Regions from separate parts of the Homo sapiens genome. Here all the other regions are linked to region 1. Evidence: promoter capture Hi-C in 16 types of primary human blood cells and fetal thymus (Javierre and others, 2016). All regions are on one chromosome and are shown on one strand. The core of a region is centred on a gene start or on the middle of the fragment in contact, and the rest is flanking DNA. Distances in the headings are between cores, read along the strand shown.

Region 1 (3,560 bases), core at 644-3,143:
GCTTTTCACTGCCTCAAGGAAGAAAAGTTTTACAGTAGAACCTAAAAGTTCCTAAATATCTGGCTGATGCTTGCTCTGGAAGGAAAGCTGGGAGGCAGGGAAGGATGGAAGGAGAACCCGTGTTCCATGCACACAGCAGCTCTGCTTTCCAGGAAGAACGCTTGCACTGAAGCTACAAGCTTCATCTGCCTTGCAGGAAGGTTTAGGGTCCTCCTTTTCCTACAGGAGGGAAAGGTCAAAGGGTGGAGTTTCGCAACACTCTTAAATTCATTCATTCTTTACGGTCTGAGGCTTGGGTTCTTCAAACTACAAAGGGAAGGAAGGCCCTTCAACAAAAAATGAGTCTACTTAGTATTGCAGATTAATTTTTAAACAGGATTAGAGGATTTGCACCAAGGTAAAGCACTATCCACTTTATGACGACTCACTTCAAATTTAAGATTGATAACAGTCCGATTTCAACATCTAGGGAAACTGGTAGAGCATTTTCGGACTGTCAGACCTCAAAAAAGAAAACAAATGTTTGAATATAAAAGGCCAATCTGCTCTCAGCACACCTCCTGTCTCTAAAATCCCCGAAAACAATCACTTTTTTTTTTTTTTTTTGAGACGGAGTTTTGTTCTTGTTGCCCAGGCTGGTGTGCAATGGCGCGATCTCAGCTCACTGCAACCTTCGCCTCCCAGGTTCAAGTGATTCTCCTGCCTCAGCCTCCCAAATAGCTGGAACTAAGGCACGCGCCACCATGCCCAGCTAATTTTGTATTTTCAGTAGAGACGGGGTTTCACCATGTTGGTCAGGCTGGTCTCGAACTCCTGACCTCAAGTGGTCCACCCGCCTCGGCCTCCCAAAGTGCTGGGATTACAGGCGTGAGCCACTGCGCCCGGCCCACAATCACATCCTAAGAGACAAACATGGAGTAAGCCATCTTACAGTCCTGGGAGAACCAACACTCGCTTGCCTACCACTACCGTCGGTGTGTCAGGCACTGCTAAAGGTACTGAGGAAAGTGGAAGGAACAATCACAAAAATGAAAAAGAGAAGAGAGGAACTGCACTCCATTTTAAACTCTGCTCGCTGGTTTTCGGTAGCTCTGCGGCTCGGTTTTCATCCTTCCGGGCAGTGTAACAAGTTCCTCCTGAACTCTGAGTCCGTGGCCGTCGCGGAGCTGAGCCACTTTCAGGGTGTGGGTCAGAGTAAGTTTGGGTTGAGGATGCTGCAGCCAGGACAATCAAACGGCAGCCCAGCCAGATCCCCACGCGGCTGGGGCTTAGCCCCGGGCTTCCTACCGCGAGCTGAATCCGTTCATAGGTCCTTAAAAATCAACAGCCCCGTACGCTACCCCTGGAGAGATTTCTACATTCTGACCACTCACTCAAACGCAAAGGTCACGTTAGCCGCTGAACTCCAAAGCAGAGGGGCTCGCCGCCAGGGCTCCGGGAGTTGGAGAAGGGCGCGGGAGGTGTGTCCAGGACACCAGCACAAAGGCTCCTTTCACCGCTCCGCGCCCCGCGCCCTCGGGTGCGGACCCTGGGCGCCCGCCGGCTGCGCGCCAGGACCCCGCCACTCCAGGCGGCTCCCAAGGCCCACGCGCTTCTGCTCCGCCCGGACTTCCGAGCCCAGCCGTGGCGCTCACCTGTCCTGCCCGCAGCGCCAGCTGCACGGCCGCCTGGAAGCACTCCTCCCAGGGGCCGGCCGCCAGCGCCGCCTGGTCCTCGCCGCTCGGCTTCATCGCGGCCTCGCCGGGCCCCTCCACCTCCAGCCCCCCTCGGCGGGACTCCGGCTCCCACCGGATCCCGCCGTCCCGCCGCCAGGCTCCACACTCCCTGTGCCTGCTCCCGCAGCTCTGTGCCTAGTCCGCCGCCCGTCCCACACCTGCGCTGGCGGGAAGGGCAGCCAGCGGGCCGCGGGAGCCGTGCGTCCTGCTTTCCGCTCCCCACCCTCCGCCCCGCCCCGTGCCGAGCCCAGCCCAGCTCCCCGCCCCGCTCCCCGCCCAGCTCCCTGCTCCCGCGTCCGGCCCCGCTCTGCATTCCCCACCTCGCCCCTCGCAGAGCTCGGCCCCGCCCATTCCCCCCTCTTCCCCGCCCCTTGACGCTCCCGGCCCCGCCCCGCACCCGTTGCTGCTCCTGGCCTCTTCCCGCGCCGTGCCCGGCCCCGTCCTGCACCGCCCCTCCCGCTCCCGGCTGCGCCCCGTACCTGGCCCCGCCCCTCTGGGCTAGCCCTGAACACAAATCAGTGCCGAGCCTGGTCCCTCTCCGCTCCGCGCTTTACCTCCAGCCCCGCCCCTGTGGTGCAGCATCACCCTCCCCGCTCGAGGCGGACCCAACCCTGCTCCGCCGTGCCCCGTCCCGCAGCGCGCAGAGCGGGCTCCAACTCCTCTGAGCCTCGAGCCCCGCCTCCCTCAAGTTGAGCCGGGCCCGTGTCCAAGCCCCGCCCCACCGCCGCGCGCTGAGACAGGCCCCACCCCCGGCTCGTGCAGAACTCCGTACTGTTCTGGGTCAAGCGCGCGGAGGGCGGCTTGGGCCACCGCAGAGCTGGGAGGGAGGAGCTAGGAGCGGCTGTTTTGGGGGCCCGGGGCAGCTACTGTCTGGGTGGGACCGTGCGGTGCCGGCCCAGCCCCGGAGGTGCCGGGGAGCGTCCCGTCCGCGGATCCCCGCGCACGTGGTGCCGGGCGTCCCTTCATGGTCTGTGGCCGGATTCGGGCTCGAGCGCCAGGGGCGGCTGGGCCAGCACCTTCCGACCGGTCGCTTTTTGTTCGCGGAGGCCGCTGGGCGCTAGGCGTCGTTCTCGGCCTCGCAGGAGCTCAGACCGCCGAGCGCACAAGGCCGCAGTGTTCCTGCAAGCGGCCGCCCCGCGCGGCAAGTTTGGTCGCAAACAAGCTCTCCCTCCGCTAACCCCAAACACTGCGAGGACAGCGGCTGGACTTTATAAACTCTTCACACCCAAAACTCGAATTTGGAGACGGAACTGTGATTGCGATGAGCCTCTGTAGTGAGGAATGACCTTTCCAACCTTGGATTCTCTTGCTGGCCCATGTAAACATAAATAGGAGGCATTTCCCGAAAGAGTGGCCGCGTGGTTTCCAAGGTTAATTTCATAAGCCGCTCTGCCTGCCCGTTTTATAAAAGATGCTAACCCACGTAAAATTATTCTGGAGTGCCACTTCGGAGTCTGGGAGAATAATGGGAGTTTGTACAAGAACCTTGATGGGGCATTTTTTACACACTTAACCTAATAATGAAATTAAACGTTTTTAGTTTTTGAGTACTTTATGCTGAAACACCTTGTGGAGAAACTTTAAGTGTACCGTATAAGAGACAAAAAGTACAAACAGGAGGAATTACAAACAGGAAATACAAACACGCAGATATGGGTACAACTTTAGGGACTCTGGCCTCACCCAGAGCCCTAATCCTACGGCTCAGAAAACTAGACCAATTGCCCTGCCTCCCACCACGCCAGTTTGGGGCAGCTAAGGGCGCACTCCCCTCCATCTTTTTTGGGTTCTTATGTTTTTATGATGTTTAAGACAGAGGCCGGGTGCGGTGGCTCACGCCTGTAA
Region 2 (3,560 bases), core at 745-3,244, 960 kb before region 1:
AAGTAGTAGTTTAAATGTGTCAAGATTTTACAGGTAGAACAGGCCTGGGGGTGCTAGGAGCCACCACGGGGGTAGGGAAATAGTATGAATTAGAAGAGTCCGCCTGTAGAAACGTGTCATCCCGGGGGAAGGAAGCGGCCGGGGAAGTGGGCTGCTTGCTACCCGGGAGCCAGAGTCCTCCGGGGAAAAGGAAGTGAAGAGGGCCAGAGCCCCTGGGAAGAGGCCTGGCTCAGATCAAGGATTCTGCCAAAACCGGAAAGTGGAGGAGCCAACGACTCGGGGGGTTTTGCTTATCAGGAAAAGGCATTCTAGAGGGCGTAGTGGTAAAGTTAGGATGGGAGACAGTGGAAGCTTGCGTCAGGGGAGCGAAAGTACAGAAAAAAAAAAAATGAGGCTGCAGAAGGGACTTGCCCTTTGGATTTTGGCCAGGAATGACAAAAATGTGAGGTATGGTAAAATTAGCAGGCTGGAAAGTTTTTTAAATGATTAGTCCCAGCTGTCCCCTGATGGATTGCACAGAAACCTGCAAAGAGAAGTGGCGCAATGACCTGACCTTTTTCAACCATAAATAAGATTTTATTGCTACTTTAAGAGGTGGGCCCCACCTCTTATGATAACTGATAACAACTATAACTTTTTTGAAGGTCAAAGACACTCATTTCCAAAGAAAGTGCTCACTATAAAAGTCCAATCAAAATATATTGATTATTATAAAAATATCAAAACAGTTTAAAAATTGTTTTAATTAAATTTAAATACAGACAGTAAACAGATCATTGGTTGCCAGAGATTATCAGAGTGGGAGTGAAGTGTTGAATTAGGTGAAACAGTGGATTTTTTAAAATAGACTTTAGTTTTTAGAACACTTTCAGGTTCACAGCAAAATTGAGCAGAAAATAGAGTTCCCGTATGTACCCCTACTGTCACACATGCACAGCATCCTCCACTGTCAACATCCCATACCAAAGTGGTACCTTTGTTATGATCAGTGAACCTACATTGACACATCATTATCACCCAAAATTCAGAGTTTGCATTAGGGTTCACTCTTGGTGTTTTATTCTGTGGGTTTTGGCAAATATATAATGACATGGATCCACCATTATAGTATCACGCGGAATAGTTTGACTGCCCTGAAAATCCTTAGTGCTCCTGTTCATCCCTTTCTTCCGACAACACCTGGCAACCGCTGATCTTTCCACTGACTGCATGGTTTTGACTTTTCCAGAATGGCATATAATGGGAATCTTGGAGTGGCTAGCCTTTTCAGATTGGCTTCTTTCCTTATAGTAATATGCATTTAAGCTTTCTCCATGTCTTGTCTTGAGAGTTCATTTCTTTTTAGTGCTGAATAATATTCCATTGTCAGGCTGTAACAGTGTTTATTCATTCCCCAACTAAAGGGCATTCTGGTTGTTTCTGTGTTTGGGCAATTATCAATAAAGCTCCTACAAACATCTGTGTACAGGTTTTTGTGTGGACATGTTCGCAACTCCTTTGGGTAGATACCAAGAAGCATGATTGCTGGATCATATTGTAAGAGTAAGTTTAGTTTTGTTTTTTGGGGTTTTGTTTTGTTTTTTGAGACAGGGTCTCACTCTGTCATGGCAGACAATCGTGGCTCACTGCAGCTTTAAATTCCCTGGGTTCAGATGATCCTCCCACCTCAGCCTCCCGAGCAGCTGGGACTACAGGCACAGTGCCACCACACCCAGCTAATTTTTCTGTTTTTTGCAGAGATGGGGTTTCACCATGTTGAGCAGGCTGGTCTCAAACTCTTGGGCTCAAGCGATCCTCTTGCCTTGGCCTCCCAAAGTGCTTGGATTACAGGCATGAGCCACTGTGCCTGGCCTGGTTTTATAAGAAACTTACAAACTGTCTTCCAAAGTGGTCGTGTCAGCCAGGCCTGGTGGCTAAATTACCCTGTAATCCAGCACTTTGGGAGGCCGAGACGGGCAGATTATCTGAGCTCAGGAGTTCAAGACCAGCCTGGGCAACGTGGCGAGACCCGCTTCTCTACTAAAAATACAAAATAAAAATACAAAAAAATGCCCCAGGAGTGGTGGTGGAACCGAGATTGTGCCACAGGACTCCATCCTGGGCAACGCAGGGAGACACTATCTCAAAAAAAAAAAAAAAAGAGAGAGAGAATTTAACACAGGAAACTGGTTACATATATATCCAAGGGGTTAATTAAGAGCAAAAAGGGAACATGTGAGATTACCCAGAGACTAGTAACTACGGGAAACTCTGGGCTGGGAGCGTGAAAGGGAAAATAGTTTTACCCAGTGCTACCATCATTGACTCTGAGGCTGCTGACATTGGCACCTTTACCACCAGCAGGCAGAAAGCCAGGAGCCAATACTCCAGCTTACACTGCAGGCGTCCAACAGAGTAACAGCCATGGGAGCCCACAAGCTCTGAACAGCTGAGGTTCCTGGAGCCTCTGCTAGTACTGCTGGAGCTAGGGCTGAGTGCTGCTGCTACTGCTGCTGTTCACATCACCCCCGAGCAGGAAGCCAGGCTCACCCATTGCCACCACCACCACTACTCAGCTATGTGAGCTGCCTCCACAAATTGGAGAAAAGGTCTTCTTCCTCCTGCATCTGAATCCCCTACTGTCTCTCAATTCAGAACCTAACTAGAAATAGAGAGCTAATAAGAGTCTGGAAAAACAAGCTTGGAGGTTTCCAGTTCATATTCTGGAAAGAATACGACCTACAGTGAAGGCTGGGCGTGGCAGCTCACACCTGTAATCCCAACATTTTGGGAGGCTGAGGCGGGCAGATCACTTGAGGTCAGGAGTTCAAGACCAGCCTGGCCAACATGGTGAAACCCCGTTTCTACTAAAAATACAAAAATTAGCTGGGCGTGTTGGTGAGCGCCTGTAATCTCAGCTACTCAGGAGGCTGAGGCAGGAGAATCGCTCTAACCCTGGAGGCAGAGGTTGCAGTAAGCTGAGATTGCACCGCTGCACTCCAGCCTGGGCAACAGAGCGAGACTCCATCTCAAAAATATAAATAAATAAATAACCTACAATGAGTTAAGAAGCTTTCACATTTTTTTTCCTGCTCTGCGCCAGTTTAAATAGCATAGGAACTGAAAGATTCCTATGAAGATTTTGTAGAAGATTCCGTGAAGATTTTGTAGATGACGTTCACAAAATTTTATCAGCCTCATGCCTTGGGTGATGATAGGTATAGTTAATTTTAACTACCTTTTAAAATTATTTTATTCATGGCCTCTTCAGATTTTTTACCTTTTGTCAAGACAATTTTGATCATTTATATCTTCCTTTAAAAAATCAGCCATTTTGTGCTGGGCATGGTGGCTCATGCCTGTAATCTCAGCACTTTGTGAGGCCGAAGTAGAAGCATTGCTTGAGCTCAGGAGTTCAAGACCAGCCTGGGCAACATAGTGAGCCCTCGTCTCTACAGAAAACAAATTAGCCAGGTGTGGTGGTGCACGCCTGTATTTCAGCTACTCAAGAGGCTGAGGCAGGAAGAGGATCACTTGAGCCCAGGAGGCAGAGGTTGCAGTGAGCTGAAATCGTGCCACTG
Region 3 (3,560 bases), core at 358-2,857, 910 kb before region 1:
CCAAACCTAGGCAGCAGATATACTTTGTGGCTCCAAAATATGGAATGAGTGAATCCCCATCTTGATCCTATGTGGCTCATATCTATCACTTTGTAATTGCTGGCAATTTTAGAGAATTTAGGTGCATTATGTGGCTTTGAAGCCATATACAGTCTTTTGCTATATTCACTAGGTGATGGTAGTTTATGAAATACTGTGTAAGATAATGTGCCTGGTTTCCATTTCTAAATGAAATACCGTTTATTTTTATTTAAATTAAAAAAGTTTTCACTCGAGTGAGGAATTTTTTAGTTTTATTGAGGTTAGCATACATATAATAAAGTCCAAAAAATCTTAAATGTGGAGCTCAATGACATTTTATACACACATGTACAAATACGTGTATATTATACACAACAGTGTACCACCAACCAAATCAAGATATGGAATATTTCCAGGACCCCTGAAGATTCTCTCATGCTTCTTCCCAGGCAACACCCCCACCCTACCAGAGGCAGCCCCCAGCTGCCTCCAGAGGTAATCACTATTCTGTTGTCTATTTTTGAACTTCATATAAAATGGAAACATATAGTTATGCTCTTTTGGATGTAGCACCATTTATTGAAGACACATTACTTTAAGCCTTTGTGAAATACACACACACAAAGATACACACCGGATGACTATATGTGTGAACCTGTTTCTGGACTTTGTTTAGTTCCACTGGTCAGCTTGCCTTGGTCAGCTTGCCTTTCCTTGCGTCGATACCACATATCTTTATAAGAGATCTTGATATCTGGAGGGATAATGTCTTCCAGATCTGTTCTTCTTGGCTACTTTTGGCCCTTGAGTTCTTCTTTAGACTCTATTCTGTTCCATTCTTCTATTTGTCTATCTTCACACTAAGAACACGCTGTTTTAATTATCGTAGCTTTAGAGTAAATCTTATTATCTGGTGAGGTAAAACTTCCATTTTCTTCTTCCTTAAGATTATTTTGGCTATTCTTGGCCCCTTGCATTTTTATTTGTAAATGGTAGCATCAGCTTGTCAATTTCCACTACAAAAATATGGTGAGATTTTGATTGAGATTGCACTGAATTCATACATGACTTTGAGAAGCACTGGCAACTTTACAATACTAAAGTTTCCAAGACATTACATCGTATATCCTTCCATTTATTTAGCTCTTCTTTCATTCCTCTGAGTGATATGTTGTGGTTTTCAGACTAGAGGTTTTGCTAATCTTTTGTTAAGAATTTTTCGGAATAGTTTATATTCCAATGTTTAAAAATTTTCTAGTTGCTGTTGCTATGTAGAAATACAACTGCTTTTTCTGCCGGGCGCAGTGGCTCACACCTGTAATCCCAGCACTTTGGGAGGCCAAGGTGGGCGGATCACGAGGTCAGGAGATCAAGACTATACTGGCTAACACGGTGAAACCCCATCTCTACTAAAAAATTAGCCAGGCGTGGTGGCGGGCACCTGTATTCCCAACTACTTGGGAGGCTGAGGCGGGAGAATGGCGTGAACCCAGGAGGCAGAGGTTGCAATGAGCTGAGATTGCACCGCTGCACTCCAGCCTGGGCGACAGAGTGACTCCATCAAAAAAAAAAAAAAAAATACAACTGCTTTTTCTTATATTGACTTTGTTTTCAAAGACATCTCTAAATTCAATTTTTTTTTCTAATTTTTTTATTTTTAGAGATGGAGTCTCACTATGTTACCCAGGCTGGTCTCCAACTACTGGCCTCAAGTGATCCTCCCACTTTGACTTCCCAAAGTGCTCGGATTACAGGTGTGAGCCACTGCACCTAGCCTAAATTCACTTATTAATCTAATAGTTGACCTGTAGATTACTTTGGATTTTCTATGTGTACAATATATTGGCTATAATATCAACTTTGTTTCATCCTTTCCAATCATTATACCACTTCTTAATTTTCCTCACTTGTTGCTATAACTATACAGTATAGAACAGAAGTGATGATAGTGGCCATCCTTATCCTGTGTCCAAGCTCAAGTGCGGGTGCAATCACTCAGAAAACTGTTCAGCAGTGTATGATGAACATATAGATACACTGCAATCCAGCAATCCCACTCCTAGACATATGCCCACAAGAAATGAGTGTATGTCTACCAAAAGACAAGGACAAACATGTCCTTAATGGTTCTCTTCATGAGAAGGCCAAACTGGAAACAACCAAATTCAGAACAAATAAATGGTAGTAGACTCAAACAATCATATGCTATTTAGCAGCAAGAATGAACAAACTATTCCTACAACGTGGATGACTCTCACTAACTTGAGCAAAAGCAGTCAGACATTAAAAAGCACATATTATATAATTAAACAAAGTTCAAAAAAGGCAAAACTAATCTACGGTGTTAGAGGGCTTGGGGCTGGTTACTCAAGGGGGAGGATTTAGGATGGCGCTCCAGGGGCTTTCTGGAGGAGAGATAAATTTCCTGTTCTTGGCCTGAGTATTGATAGACAGCTATGTTCACTCTGTAAAAACTCCCTGAGCTATGCACTTGTGATTTGTGTGCATTTTTGTGTATATTTCAATTAAAAGTTTATTAAAAACTACATATATTTAACTGAAGTTCATTCTCACTGTAATCTGTACAATCTGAATTTGTATAACAAATGTCTGCCCAGCTCTATAAATGTACAGCTCTTGTAGACACCAGGCTTTTAGGCTGTATTTTGATATGCTTGTGCCTCTGAAGTTCTAGCTATAAGGGTAGTCTGTTTGTGCTGCTATAATGAAATAGCTGCAACTGTGTCATTTGCAAATAACAGAAATTTATTTCTCACAGTTCTGAAGGCTGAGAAGTCCAAGGTCAAGGCACCAGCAGGTTTGGTGTCTGCTGAAGGCCCATTCCTCATGGTGCCACCTAGGGGCCTTCACATGGCAGGACAGAAGGGCAAAAACGGCCCAAGCTAATTCCCTCCAGTCCTTTTATGAGGCACTAATCAAATTCATGAGAGCAGAACCCTCATAACTTAATCACTTCCCCAAATGCCAACCTCTTAATACTGCCACCATGAGGATAAAGTTTCAACGTGAATTTTGGAGGGGACACCATTATTCAAACCACAGGAGGGGCTATGGGTAGTAAGTAGAGTTTTCTCTGAAAGGGGTATAAATTATACATTGAGGGGAGAGAGCCTCTTAAACAGTATACTAAAGTGCAGAAGGCAGGCCTTGTTCCAGTGAAAGAAGGGACTCCAAACTCTCGCTATGCTTCATTTCCTTTGGTCTAGAGCAGTGGTTCCCAAACAGGGATTGAAGGGGCCAAGGAGTAAGTTGAAGACATTGCTATGAATCCAAATATGTAATCCACCAAGCATTATCTGTAAAATGAGTATCTCATACATATATGTACTATTATTTAAAAATACACTTTGCTACTTAATTTCATAATTCTTTTAAATGAATTTGTAATTTTTTAAATTAATAGACTTTGTTCATTATATATTTCCTCAAATATATAAACAGTATGCACATAAAAGTATGCCTACTATCAAAGGACTTTGAACAATTTGGGGGCAATAGGGAAGCCTGACATTTTAAAA
Region 4 (3,560 bases), core at 278-2,777, 720 kb before region 1:
TTAATATTTCGGAGCTCCAGAAGAACCTCCAGTTTCTGCAGCGCTCGCTCGACTGAGTGCAAGATGCTGAAGTGATAAAAGCGACCATTTATGGTGCCCTTGTGTGCCAGGCTTTGTGCTGTCTAGTATCTTTAATCCTCACAACACTATCGTGAGAGGGCACTACACTAGGTTTTTCCATTCTTATCGGTGACGAAACAGATTTATAAAGGGTAAATAAGTTGGCTTGAGGTTACACATCTACTAAGTTGAAAGCTGGTAAGATTCCCTTATCATTAGGCAGATCAAAGTATGAAAGTAATAAGATCATACTTTGATCTGCCTACTCCCAGTCCGTGTTCTTCTGATTATACTATACTCCCTCTCAGAAGATTCCTTTTGGTTGAGTGTTGTTTGTGGAGAAATGGTAACAAAGGTGCCAGATAACCAGTGGAGACTATTTCTAGAATTTGTACTCAAAAGATTCATTCTTTAAAAGCTTACCTTTGTTCCCATTCAATTGTGGTAACAATTGTGCATTTACTGTTAGCTGGAGAACCTTAAAACTTCAGAAGCAGTATTTGACTGCTTTGTGATGTTATAAATTGTAATATGAGTTTTCTACATAGATGGATGTCCATGGTAGAATAAGAGAAATCCTTGCTGAGACTATACGGGAAGAATTGGCACCTGATCAACAGCATTTATCAACAGAAGATTTGATCAAAGCCCTTAGACGTCGAGGAATCATTGACGATGTGATGAAAGAACTTAATTTTGTTACTGTGAGTAATCTTTTAGGGAAATAAATGAGAGTATATATGTATATACTAATGCGTAACACTACTTATAAGGTTCCGATGTGGGGCCTTTCGTTTTAGTAAAACCACTTCAAGGTCATTCTGTTTACTAGTGTCCTTGTTTCAAGTATAGGCTAGCTCTGCCCTTGAATATACTGAATAGTTTTGTGTATCAATGAAATTTGTGTTAGATATCTTATTCCTGTCTCTACAGTGACAGAATTTTCTCTTATTTTCTAGGTCTGTAAATTTGAATATACATACTTTAGTCCAATTAGTTCACCATAACAAAGTTCTTTTTCATTATGATCTGTAACTTTTTTAGATTAAGCGTATTTTTAAAATAAGCACTCTTTTGGGATTATATTCTCTATGATTAACAAATTACAAATTTCTTTAAGAAAATAATTGACTGCATAAGAGTCCTCAAATCTTTTAATACAAATAGGTCAATAATGGGATGATAGTCTCTCAGTGCACAATTAGTAAGTAGGCCTTCATTTGAAAGTGAGGCAATAATGGAAACTGTGACCTCAATACCTGGGTAATATAATGTGAAAATTGGATGGACTTCATAATACAATAGGGAATAAGTATTTTAATACAGCACCTTTTTTTGGTTTTTGAAGTTTATGAACCCGTTTGTTATAAAAATTGACCTAATAACAGCTTCTACTCTGTGATGACACTTTATTAAAATCAGCTCATAGTGGAATTATAAGCCAACTGTTACATAAGGTTTACAGAAAGTTTAACCTTGTTGAAGGTATTAAGGATTTGTTTTTAGCTTTATGTGGATAGTATTACTTGAAGACAGTTTAATTCCTTAGCATTTGATTTTAGGAGTGATCAGTTTACATCATCTTTTATGCAGGCTTTTATTTTCATTATTTTAATTAGGCTAGGAAAATAAGGGGTTCTTTGAAAGGGCCTTACCCTGTTGACTTTAGGTTCAGTGCTTAGTCATGTTTATTGACATTTCCTTAACCTATAATTGTTTTCTAATTTGTTTTGATTTTTTTTTCCTGCCTTTCTAGGACAGTGTTGAGCAAGAACTCCCTTCCTCTCCAAAACAACCTATTTGTTTTGATAGACAATCGACATTAAAAAAAAGTATGTATATTTTAACATTAATTTAGTTGTGGTTAATAGTAAATATTGATGTGGTGTAGTCTTTCGTATTTGATAGAAGACATTTCCATTTTTTCCCCCCAAAATAAAATACTTAAAATTTTATGGTTGGCTAAAACAGATTGTTTTGCATGAAGTATATCAGAAGAGTTAATGTATAGCACGGTAGAAGCAAAAACAGCATCACCAGTTTCTTGTGTTTTAATAATATGTTTTATAAAAACTGTACAGCCTTGCTTTTAAATATTAATATAATTGACAAATACACTTGCTGAATTGATAATTATATGAGTTGGTTTGTGAAGGTGGAGGAATGTTGGATAAGCAGTTAAAAAGCAAAAGTATACTACATATTGGCTCTGATGCCTTTTCCAGCTGGGAGAAAGTAGCCTGGATGTAAACTCAGAAAAGAATATCATATTTTGTGTATCTTCTCCCCAGAGTGCAAATGATTCTGGCATATACAGTAATAAATTTGTTACTCTTTTGCTTTTTTTTTAGTCTTTGGTATTGGGTTTTTATCTGTCAAGTTTTTATTTCCTAATGTCTTGATCACATTCTTTTAAGTTATTTGGCAGTTTCCTCATATATATTGCTACACTTTACAGCTAATATTGATCCAACACGGAGGTATCTTTACCTTCAGGTTTTGGGTGGAAAAGCTTTCTTGGAACATCTGCAAGAACCTGAGCCTTTACCTGGACAAGTTTGTTCAACGTTTACTTTATGTTTACATTATCGAAACCAACGTTTTCGTTCTAAACCTGTTCCATGTGCCTGTGAACCAGATTTTCATGATGGCTTTTTACTTGAAGTACACAGAGAAAGCTTGGGTAAGAAACAGTAATAAATTGTCATTTAATTGAGTAAATCTTTGTTATGTTTTATTGTGAAACAATAATAATGACTTTTTCTGTAAGGAGAGATTTATAATGGAGGAATCTCTATTTTGTTTCCCACTGCTCTTTTCAATTTAAACTACTATCCACCTTCTTGCAATATTCTGTTTGCTATTCATTTTCCCTGGATATTATTTTTTGACTGTTTTCATTGTTGATTCTTTAGTAATACACACTTAAATACCTATTATGTGCATAGTGTTATGCTAGGCAGGTGCTGGGATGATATAGTGGAAAATGAGACATGGTCCTTCTCATTTATAAAATATAACCAGATTGATGATGTTATGTAACTTTTAAAAGTCGAAGTTTAGGCTGAGCACGGTGACTCACAGCTGAAATCCCAACACTTTGGGAGGTCTAGGTGAGAGAATCATTTGAAGCCAGGAGTTCAAGACAAGTCTGGGCAAAGTGAGACATTGTCTCTACAAAAAATAAAAAATAGGCTGGGTGTGGTGGCTCATGCCTGTAATCCCAGCACTTTGGGAGGCCAAGGCAGGTGGGTCACCTGAGGTCAGGAGTTTGAGACCAGCCTAGCCAACATGTCGAAACCCTGTCTCTACTAGAAATACAAAATTTCTAGCCGGGCATGGTGGCAGGCGCGTGTAATGAGCCGAGATCACCCCATTGCACTCCAGCCTGGGCAACAGAGTGAGACTCTGTTTAAATAAATAAATAAATGAATAAATATTTATAAATTATTTATAAAAACTTCTAATAAATTTTTATAAATACTTACAAATAAATATAA

The links. The method cuts DNA at HindIII sites, captures the fragments that hold promoters and counts their contacts. A CHiCAGO score of 5 or more calls a contact.
Region 2: a fragment that was not itself captured here is called in contact with the fragment with the promoter of IMPA2 in region 1 in 4 of 17 cell types (non-activated CD4 T cells, naive CD4 T cells, monocytes and 1 more); the score reaches 10.3 in non-activated CD4 T cells.
Region 3: a contact is called between a fragment that was not itself captured here and the fragment with the promoter of IMPA2 in region 1, in 1 of 17 cell types (non-activated CD4 T cells). The highest score is 8.3, in non-activated CD4 T cells.
Region 4: a fragment that was not itself captured here is called in contact with the fragment with the promoter of IMPA2 in region 1 in 1 of 17 cell types (non-activated CD4 T cells); the score reaches 5.6 in non-activated CD4 T cells.

The regions. Positions count from the first base shown.
Region 1 is chr18:11,979,840-11,983,399 of GRCh38, reverse strand. IMPA2 (inositol monophosphatase 2) reads right to left here and starts at 1,893. Exons shown (of 8, transcript NM_014214.3): 1 at 1,635-1,893. The coding sequence starts at 1,730. RefSeq lists silencers at 1,356-2,835, 2,676-2,970. The HindIII fragment of the contact is 12,350 bases long and covers 182-3,560 here.
Region 2 is chr18:12,943,762-12,947,321 of GRCh38, reverse strand. No RefSeq gene overlaps it. Among named protein-coding and RNA genes, the nearest start is that of SEH1L, 2.5 kb to the left of the region's middle. The HindIII fragment of the contact is 1,374 bases long and covers 1,308-2,681 here.
Region 3 is chr18:12,886,062-12,889,621 of GRCh38, reverse strand. No RefSeq gene overlaps it. Among named protein-coding and RNA genes, the nearest start is that of PTPN2, 3.6 kb to the right of the region's middle. The HindIII fragment of the contact is 5,305 bases long and covers 1-3,560 here.
Region 4 is chr18:12,698,162-12,701,721 of GRCh38, reverse strand. CEP76 (centrosomal protein 76) reads left to right here. Exons shown (of 12, transcript NM_024899.4): 2 at 609-764; 3 at 1,817-1,892; 4 at 2,519-2,743. It also overlaps a transcript of PSMG2 not described here. Among named protein-coding and RNA genes, the nearest start is that of CEP76, 2.8 kb to the left of the region's middle. The HindIII fragment of the contact is 2,094 bases long and covers 481-2,574 here.